Regions from separate parts of the Homo sapiens genome. Here region 2 is linked to region 1. Evidence: promoter capture Hi-C in 16 types of primary human blood cells and fetal thymus (Javierre and others, 2016). All regions are on one chromosome and are shown on one strand. Each heading gives the region's core, a stretch centred on a gene start or on the middle of the fragment in contact. The rest is flanking DNA. Distances are from core to core; before and after follow the strand shown. Region 1 holds the start of IDNK (IDNK gluconokinase). Region 2 overlaps GKAP1 (G kinase anchoring protein 1).

What was found. The method cuts DNA at HindIII sites, captures the fragments that hold promoters and counts their contacts. A CHiCAGO score of 5 or more calls a contact.
Region 2: a contact is called between a fragment that was not itself captured here and the fragment with the promoter of IDNK in region 1, in 4 of 17 cell types (activated CD4 T cells, naive CD8 T cells, non-activated CD4 T cells and 1 more). The highest score is 6.9, in activated CD4 T cells.

Annotation. Positions count from the first base shown.
Region 1 is chr9:83,621,293-83,625,492 of GRCh38, reverse strand. IDNK (IDNK gluconokinase) reads right to left here and starts at 2,350. Exons shown (of 5, transcript NM_001001551.4): 1 at 2,272-2,350. The coding sequence starts at 2,321. RefSeq lists enhancers at 1,746-1,795, 1,816-1,945 and a silencer at 2,126-2,655. The HindIII fragment of the contact is 10,566 bases long and covers 1-3,731 here.
Region 2 is chr9:83,775,341-83,779,702 of GRCh38, reverse strand. All of the region lies in intron 7 of GKAP1 (G kinase anchoring protein 1), which reads left to right. Among named protein-coding and RNA genes, the nearest start is that of GKAP1, 40 kb to the left of the region's middle. The HindIII fragment of the contact is 1,843 bases long and covers 783-2,625 here.

The DNA of each region.
Region 1 (4,200 bases), core at 1,101-3,600:
TCTTTATCTACATGCACTCCTTTGGTGATCTCAACACCTTAGATCTTTAAGTACACCCACACAACAGTGATTCCCACAGTTAGATCTAAAGTCCCTCTCCTCTGAACTTCAGACTTGGACATCCAACCACCATCCACTGGATGACTAATTGGCTCGTCCAAGTCACCATATCCCACACTGAGCTTCTGAGGTTGTCTTCCAAATCTGCTCTATCTACTGCTTCCCCAAATCAGTTTGTGGCGACTCCCTCCTTCCAATTACTCAGGCCTAAAATCTTGAATCATCCTTGACTTCTCTCTTGTCTTCTTACACCCAACATCCAGTCCACAAACACATCTTTCTGACTCTACCTTCAAAATATTGCCAGCATATGACCACATTCTCTTTACCTGCATTGTTTCTGACTTCATCTCCCATCATGCTTCCCCTCACTCAGCCACAATGGGTTCCTTCCTGCTCCTTAAAGAAGCCAAGCCTTAGCTGGGCGCGGTGGCTCACGCCTGTAATCCCTGCACTTTGGGAGGCTGAGACGCATGGATCACCTGAGGTCAGGAGTTTGAGACCAGCCTCGCCAACATGATGAAACCCCGTCTCTACTAAAAATACAAAAAATTAGCTGTGCATGGTGGTGGGCGCCTATAATCCCAGCTACTTAGGAGCCTGAGGCAGGAGAATTGCTTGAACCCGGGAGGAGGAGGTTGCATTGAGCCAAGATTGCACCACTGCACTCCAGCCTGGGCAACAGGAGTGAAGCTCCGCCTCAAACAAAACAAAACAAAAAAAAAACAAAAGAAGCTAAGCCTCAGAACCATTGCACCTGCCATTCCCTCTGCCTGTCCTGCCCTTTCCTCAGCTATCCACATGGCAGGTTCCTCAAGTCTTGCAGGTCTTTGCTGAAACGCCACTCCCCCAGAGGAGACATCCCTGACCACTCTGCCTGGCACTCTTTGTTCCCCTTACTCCAGAGCATCTATCACCAACTCACACACTACATATATTCATTTACTCTGTCTCCCATACCAGAATGTAAATCCTTTGAGGGCAGGGATTTTATCTGTCCTGTTCGCTATATGACAATGACATAGAGTAAGGATTGAGCTCAATAATTACTGAGTACATGAATATCACAAGCTATACATCATAGGGATTAGGCCTCCCTCATCTGATTCAAGACTCAGAGGGGGTACATGAACTGCCCAGGCTCACACAGCCAGACAGCAACAGAACCAAGACCTAGGGCTCTTCACTCCTGTTACATCACACCATGGCAATGATTTTACATTCTCCAACTGATTCAAATCATATGGCAGCTAGGGATTTGGGGGCTCCATGTTTTATTTCAATTGCAGTTCAAGATTTCTTTTTATCTTTGTGGCTGAGAACCCTACAATAATTTTGGAAAGCAAAACCCATCTACCTGGAGTAAATCTTTAATATACACCTGACTACACAGGCCACAACATGGGCCGTTCCTGATTCAGAAAATTCTAGAAGGGTCCTATAGGCCCTTGAAGGTTATGATGTTTTAGCTGATCAAGTTCTGTCCTTTGCTGCCTGTGGTCGAATGGTACAGCAGCTGTCTTTTCTGATAAAGGGCACAGTTAGACTTTGGTTTAAACAGGAAGCCAAATGTTAACTCCTCAGTCTCCAGGTTAGCACACTGGGCTACCTCTGTGGTTTCCACAATTCTCTTCTTTCTTTCCAAACCCTCAGGAGCCACCCTCCATATTAACGCTGTCTCCTTCCAGGTTAAGCTGATGAAAGGAAGGGGAAAACGATTCACTTTCCAAAATTGAATCGGAGAAGTCCAGGGCCTCATAGGAGGAGGCCGCTGTGTGTCCAGATGGCCAAAGGTCTGTGAGAGCCTGGGCCGTGGTTTGCGTCCTCTCGCTAGAGGCCGTGCGCCCTCCCGCCTGGCCCCGACAAGGCGCCCCGAAACCTAGCCCCGCGCCGCTCGCTAGGCCTCCACCTGCGCGGCCCCGCAGCCGCCTGTTCAGGAGCGGCTTCCTCCCTGAGCCTGCGGTCGCCGCAGCCTCCCCGTCTTAGAGCGGGAACCCGGAGCTCGGATGCGGTCCCAGGATGGGCGCCCCGCGAGCAGGCTGGAGGGCGGGGAGAGGGCGCGGCAGCCGCGGGCCTCGGTTTCTTCATCTGCAAAGGGAAGGGTGGGGGGTCCCCAAGACCCCAGTCCACCGGCAGGGACGGCGACGCGTCCGGCCTCCGCCGCGCCCGCAACACTTGTCCCGGGCGCCCCCCGCCCTCTCCCGGACCTACTTCCCCGAGCCGCTCACGCCCATCACCAGCAGCGCGCCCGGCGCCGCCATAACCCAAGCTCGGCTCCTTCCCGTCGCCTTCCGGGCCCCGCCGGCCCCGGCCTACCCGGCGCTCGAGGGGCGGAGCCGCTCTCGCCCCGGCCGGGGCAGTGAGGGCCGTGCCCCTCTGCGCCCTCCCCGTTTTCCCGCGCCCCTTTTCCATGCTTTCCTCCTCCCTTTCCCAACCTCCCGGCCTCTCTCTCCTGCCCCTTCTTTTCCTCTCCCCTCCCCTCCCTCTTTCCTCTTCCCGGAAGTGAAGCGCGCGCCCGGCCTGGCACTCGCGTCTCCCTGGGCTGGAGGGAGCCGCCCAAAGCCCCGCCACCTGTCGTTCTACTGCCCCGGCCCCTCTTGGTTCCAGAGGATCCTCACCCTGGCAGGCCGGATCCTCATCCACCCATGGAAAGCATTCATTCATTCATTTATAAAAATGTTCTTGTAAAAAGAATAAACAGAAAATAAGACTCATAATTTCCCACACCAGGCAGCAATAAGCAGCACTTCCTAAAACGACTCCCCTTTCCCCGCGCCCCGTCGTAGATAGATGGGTATGAGTATTTTGTAAAACTGGGATCAGGCCGTACACAGCGTTTTGTAATCTGGCCTTTTGTCACAATAATAAATGGCGGCCATCTTTTGGTGTCAAACTTAGGGTTGAGTGTTGACCGTAGCAGCATATGTCTTGGCTGTATGGCTCTGCTGTTAAATCCAGCACTGGTTGGGGCTTTAAGAGGAAGGAGCACCACTTTAAAGTGTCCATTTGCTTTAAAACAATGTTAATTATGTGTCGTTTGAACTATTTGATTAAAAGCACTTCTTTTTTTTTTTGAGACGGAGTCTCGCTCTGTCGCCCAGGTGGGACTGCGGACTGCAGTGGCGCAATCTCGGCTCACTGCAAGCTCCGCTTCCCGGGTTCACGCCATTCTCCTGCCTCAGCCTCCCGAGTAGCTGGGACTACAGGCGCCCGCCACCGCGCCCGGCTAATTTTTTTTGTATTTTTAGTAGAGACGGGGTTTCACCTTGTTAGCCAGGATGGTCTCGATCTCCTGACCTCATGATCCACCCGCCTCGGCCTCCCAAAGTGATTAAAAGCACTTCTAACCGCATTTGGCATCACCTCCTTTGGTCTTTTGTTAACCAAGGTAGGTATTACTCTGTGTCCTAGAAAACAATAAAAGTGACATAAAAGCATTTATCTAATGAATAGTTCAATTACCCCTGCACTGCCTTTGTTTTTCATATACTTAGCCCGAGTAGGTGAGATTTCAATCTGGATGGGGGCTGTACAGGTGAAGAAATTGAGGCTTGGAGAGAGGTCTTACAATTCAGTTATGGTCAATACACATTTCTTGAACATCTACCATGTGCTGGTTAATATCATATTAATATTCATTTAAAAGATTACCCTCTAGGCATTCTCAAGCTTGATAAGAGGAATAGATGTGTATGCAAATACTCTTAACTCGTGCCCTGCTTCGCTAGCTCAGTATGAAAAAAAAAAGCTCATATTTCTTTCAATGTTCAAATCAGAATGATTAGCAGAAAATCTGATTCTTCTCCTTGGATTTCTTTCCCCAGACATGTCCAAGGATCTTAAACTTGCTGTGCTGCTCAGGGTGGTGGCAGGAAACAGCATGCTCAAATTGGGGCAGGTGAACAGGATTTAACAAAGGGACTATTAGCACAGGTGTGGGTAGGGTCAGAAAAAGCAACTAGGGGCAGAGTCCACATCTGAGTAACCGAGAAGTGTTTTCACTCTTAAATAGAAAGGGGCTGATGAGAGGGAGCCTTTATATGGGAAGGGAAGAGAATGGAAGGAGAGAGACAGAGAGAATAGACCATATAGAAAGAAGTGTCTGACAGGACTGTAGCCTTAGGAAGAGAGAGATAGACA
Region 2 (4,362 bases), core at 455-2,954, 150 kb before region 1:
TTATTAGGCATTCCGTTGTTTAATTTTTTATGGTCAGATGGTCCTCGATTTCACTTTAGAATGTGTGTGTGTGTGTGTGTGTGTGTGTGTATATGTGTATATATATACACATATACGTGTATATATATGTGTGTATATATATACACATATACACGTGTATATATATACACATATACACGTGTATATATATACACATATATGTGTATATGTGTATATATGTATGTATATGTATATGTGCGTGTGTGTGTGTGTGTATATATATATATATATATATATGGCTTCTGACCATTTTTTTGTTTGTTTCAAACATTTGCTTCACAGGCTAGGAAAACGAAATCTATCTCTTAAAAAAAATCACATCTAAATAATTTTGTGATTGTATTAATAATTTAGTTCCTAACTATGCATGCAAACACAGAATTGATTTGTTGTTGAAACAGATGGTCAATTTTTTTAAAAGTTATTTGCAAACCATTGTCATCATTTTTTAGATTAAAATTTAAATGACTACATATATAGACTGAATATTAATTCCATGTTTGAAAGTGGAAAACATACTTTTGAACTGATTCCAATTTATTTTTGTCCATTGATTTATTTGGGGGATAGTGTTATACAAATAAGAAAGCAGATACACATGGTGTACCTGCTCCTAAGACAACTCTATAAACTGTTTGATGCTTGCGTTTTCTTCTTTCCTGATTTGAAAGAAGACAAAAAATGCAAACTGACAAGATCCTACCTATTTAATATATTAAAGATGAGTTGTATTTAAACAAGCTTCTGTATGTAGAATAATATATCTTGTCTTTCCTTATTTTAGAGCTGTGTTCTGTCTTGTTAAATAATCTGATATATAATAAAATTCATTTTGAAGATTTCTGATTAAGTTCCACATTTGTAAATACAGTCTAATTATGATTTATTTCCCTTACAACTATATTAAGAATTTGGTTATAAGAATATGTAATTCACATTATCTTTATTTTTGTTTTTGTTTTTTAACTTTTAAAGTTCAGGGGTACATGTGTAGGTTTATTATATAGGTAAATTTTGGTCACGGTGGTTTGTTATACAGATTATTTTGTCACCCAGGTATTAAGCCTAGTACCCATTAGTTATTTTTCTTGATCCTCTCCCTCCTCCCACCCTTCACCCTCTGGTAAGCCCCAGTGTGTCTTGTTCCCCTCTATGTGTCCATGTGTTCTCATTATTTAGTTCCCACTTAAAGTGAGAACATGCAGTATTTGGTTTTTGTTTCTGCATTAGTTTGTTAAGGATAATGGCATCCAGCTCTATCCATGTCCCTGCAGAGGACACAGTCTCATTCTTTTTTATGGCTGCATAGTATTCCATGGTGCATATATACCACGTTTTCTTTATCCAGTCTACCATTGATGGGCATTTAGGTTGATTCTATGTCTGCTATTGTGAACAGTGCTTCAGTGAACATATGTGTGCACGTGTCTTTATAATAGAACCATTTATATTCCTCTGGGTATATATCCAGTAATGGGATTGCTGGATCAAATGGTATTTCTGTTTTTAGTTCTTTGAGGAATCGCCACACTGCTTTCCACAGTGGTTGAACTAATTTACATTCCCACCAACAGTGGATAAGCATTTCTTTCTCTCTGTGACCCTGCCAGTATCTGTTATTTTTTGACTTTTTAGTAATAGCCATTCTGACTGGTGTACCTTTTGATACTTGTTAAAAGTATGCCGAAATTATGTTCCATTTCCATTAGAGGCATTTCTTTCTGGGACTTAAATATTTAAATGTTACAACGGTTATACCATTGATCTAGAAATTTAGAAGATCTTTTTTTCCACAGAGAATCCAAAAAAGCCTAAAGAAAATTCCAATTTGAACTCTCAAACAAAATGTTATTTGCTCCTACAAATGAACTAGTTTTGTTAACGTCGTATGCTGAATGATTAACTTAATTCATTCCATCTTTAATATATTACTTAGGCCAAGGGATTTTTTTTTCATGGCTACTCTTAAGTTCCTAACATCTGTGGCAAATAATATTCTTCTTACCTACCTCCCCTTAAATCAGATATTTATTGGATAACATTCAGAAGGGAAAATATTTTACTTTATTGATGGGTGATGAGGTGTACTTGAACTGCATATATATTCTTGGTGCTAGCTAAACTTGTTCTCAGGTTAATTTCATTATTTCTTTTTTCTTCTGTCTAGAGTAGGTGCTTGTACATACCTCTTTATAAAATCTCAACAAATCATGCCTTTTCAGGAGTTTTATTTGATTCTTAGTCTTTTTTCTTCTGTTGGACTGAAGTTGTTTTGTTTTTTAATATGTTGCTTTTTAAATGCCAGAACTGTTAGGAAGGGTATCTCATAGATACTCATTTCTCTCTAGTCCCAATTTTATCTGGCCTTCCAAACTCCAGTCCTTCTAGTATGGTTTTAGTTTTAAAAATCTTAGTGATCATCATATGTCTTGAAGTCTAAATGATCCAGTCTTCAATATGCTTGAATGCACTATCATTGGAGGAGTACCCAAGAAACTGTAACAGTGGTTGTCAAAGGTGGCAGTGGGGGAGATATTGGACAGAGGGATAGGAGAAATAGCCTGCCTGCTTTTTACAGTATAAGCTTCTGAATTTTCTATCATGTCCGTGTACTACTTATGTAAAAATTATATTAAAAATAAAAAGAACTGTGTGAAGAAAGGAACCAGGGAACAAACCCAGTCCTATCTGTCTCTACAACCTACTTCCTTCTTATAGCACTGTGCTTTAGCACTAATGCTCCACATGTCTACCTTTAGCTGATTATGAGCGTGGACAAATAATTTATTCACTTTAGGCCCTAGTTATATTATGAAAAGTAATGTTGGATCTGTTGATTTCTAAAATTATGATAAATGATCAGAGTGCAATTGAAATAAAGAATAAAGAAAAATACGCTAAAAAAATGAACCCTATTGTTAATGCTACCAACACACAGGAGTGTAGCAGTAATCAAATTAGACTATTAATTTTATTTTTCTTTCTGAGATGGAGTCTCGCTATCTTGCCAAGCTGGAATGCAGTGGTGCAACCTCCACCTCCAGGGTTCAAGCGATTCTCGTGCCTCAGTCTCCCGAGTAGCTGGGGTCTACAGATGTGCACCACCATGCCCAGCTAATTTTTGTATTTTTAATAGAGGTGGGGTTTCACCATGTTGGCCAGGATGGTCTCTATCTCTTGACCTCGTGATCCACCTGCCTCGGCCTCCCAAAGTGGGATTAGAGGTGTGAGCCACTGCACCTGGCCTAAATTTTTTATTTTGTTTCTTTTCTTTTTTTTAGGTTATTAAATTTTAAAAGCAAATAAATTTAATCTAGCTTTAAATAAATCTCACCTAGAATCTGGTTTTACCTAAAGATTCAACCTATTTTCTATTCTTCTCAGTGTGTTGAGCTCATTCTTGTTACTAAGCCTTTCCTTGTTTGTATGTGTTACATTTGTTAGCTCTCTTTGGTTATAAGCAACAGAAGCCCAACTCAATCCAGCATAAACAAAACAGAGACAGTTATTTGGTTAATGTAACCACATCATGGAAGAATAGGGGGAGAGTTGACCTCATAGTTGACTGGATCCAGGCATTTAGACAGCTTTAGGACTCTCCATTTCACTCCCTACTCTCAGCTGCTATCTGTTCCTTCACTTCAGGCGAGATCACATGATTACTTGGGAATCTCGGGGTTATAGCTTTACAGAATTTCTTATAAACTGTTAATTAGCTTTTGAGGTTTGATAGATTCATTTCTTTTTCTTTTCTTTTCTCTCTCTTTTTTTTTTTTTTTTTTTTTTTTTGAGACAGAGTCTCTCTGTGTCCTCCTGGCTGGAGTGTAGTGGCACGATCTTGGCTCACTGCAACCTCTGCTTCCTGGGTTCAAGCGATTCTTGAGCCTCAGCTTCCCGAGTAGCTGGGATTACAGGCGCCCAGCACCACGCCCAGTTAATTTTTTATTTTTATTAGAGACGGGGTTTCACTGGGTTGCTCAGGCTGGTCTCAAACTCCTGGCCTCAAGTGATCTACCGGCCTTGGCCTCCCATAGTGTTGGGATTTCAGGAGTGAGCCACTGTGCCCGACTCAAGTTGTTTTCTTTCAAAAAAAATTTTTTTTTCCTTTTTAACATCTGCCAAGGCTCTGTCATCCATCAAGTTGTTTTCTTGAGGAGTTGAGGGAGGCAAGAATATTTCCTAGATGGTGTGATATATTTCCTATCATATCACATCGGGGTCATAGAATATGAGGTTATTTTTATGATGTTAAATTGATTACTGTTTCTAAAACCATTCTCCAGTAAAAGGAACCAGGACTCGTTGGAGAAATGGCTGTATCTA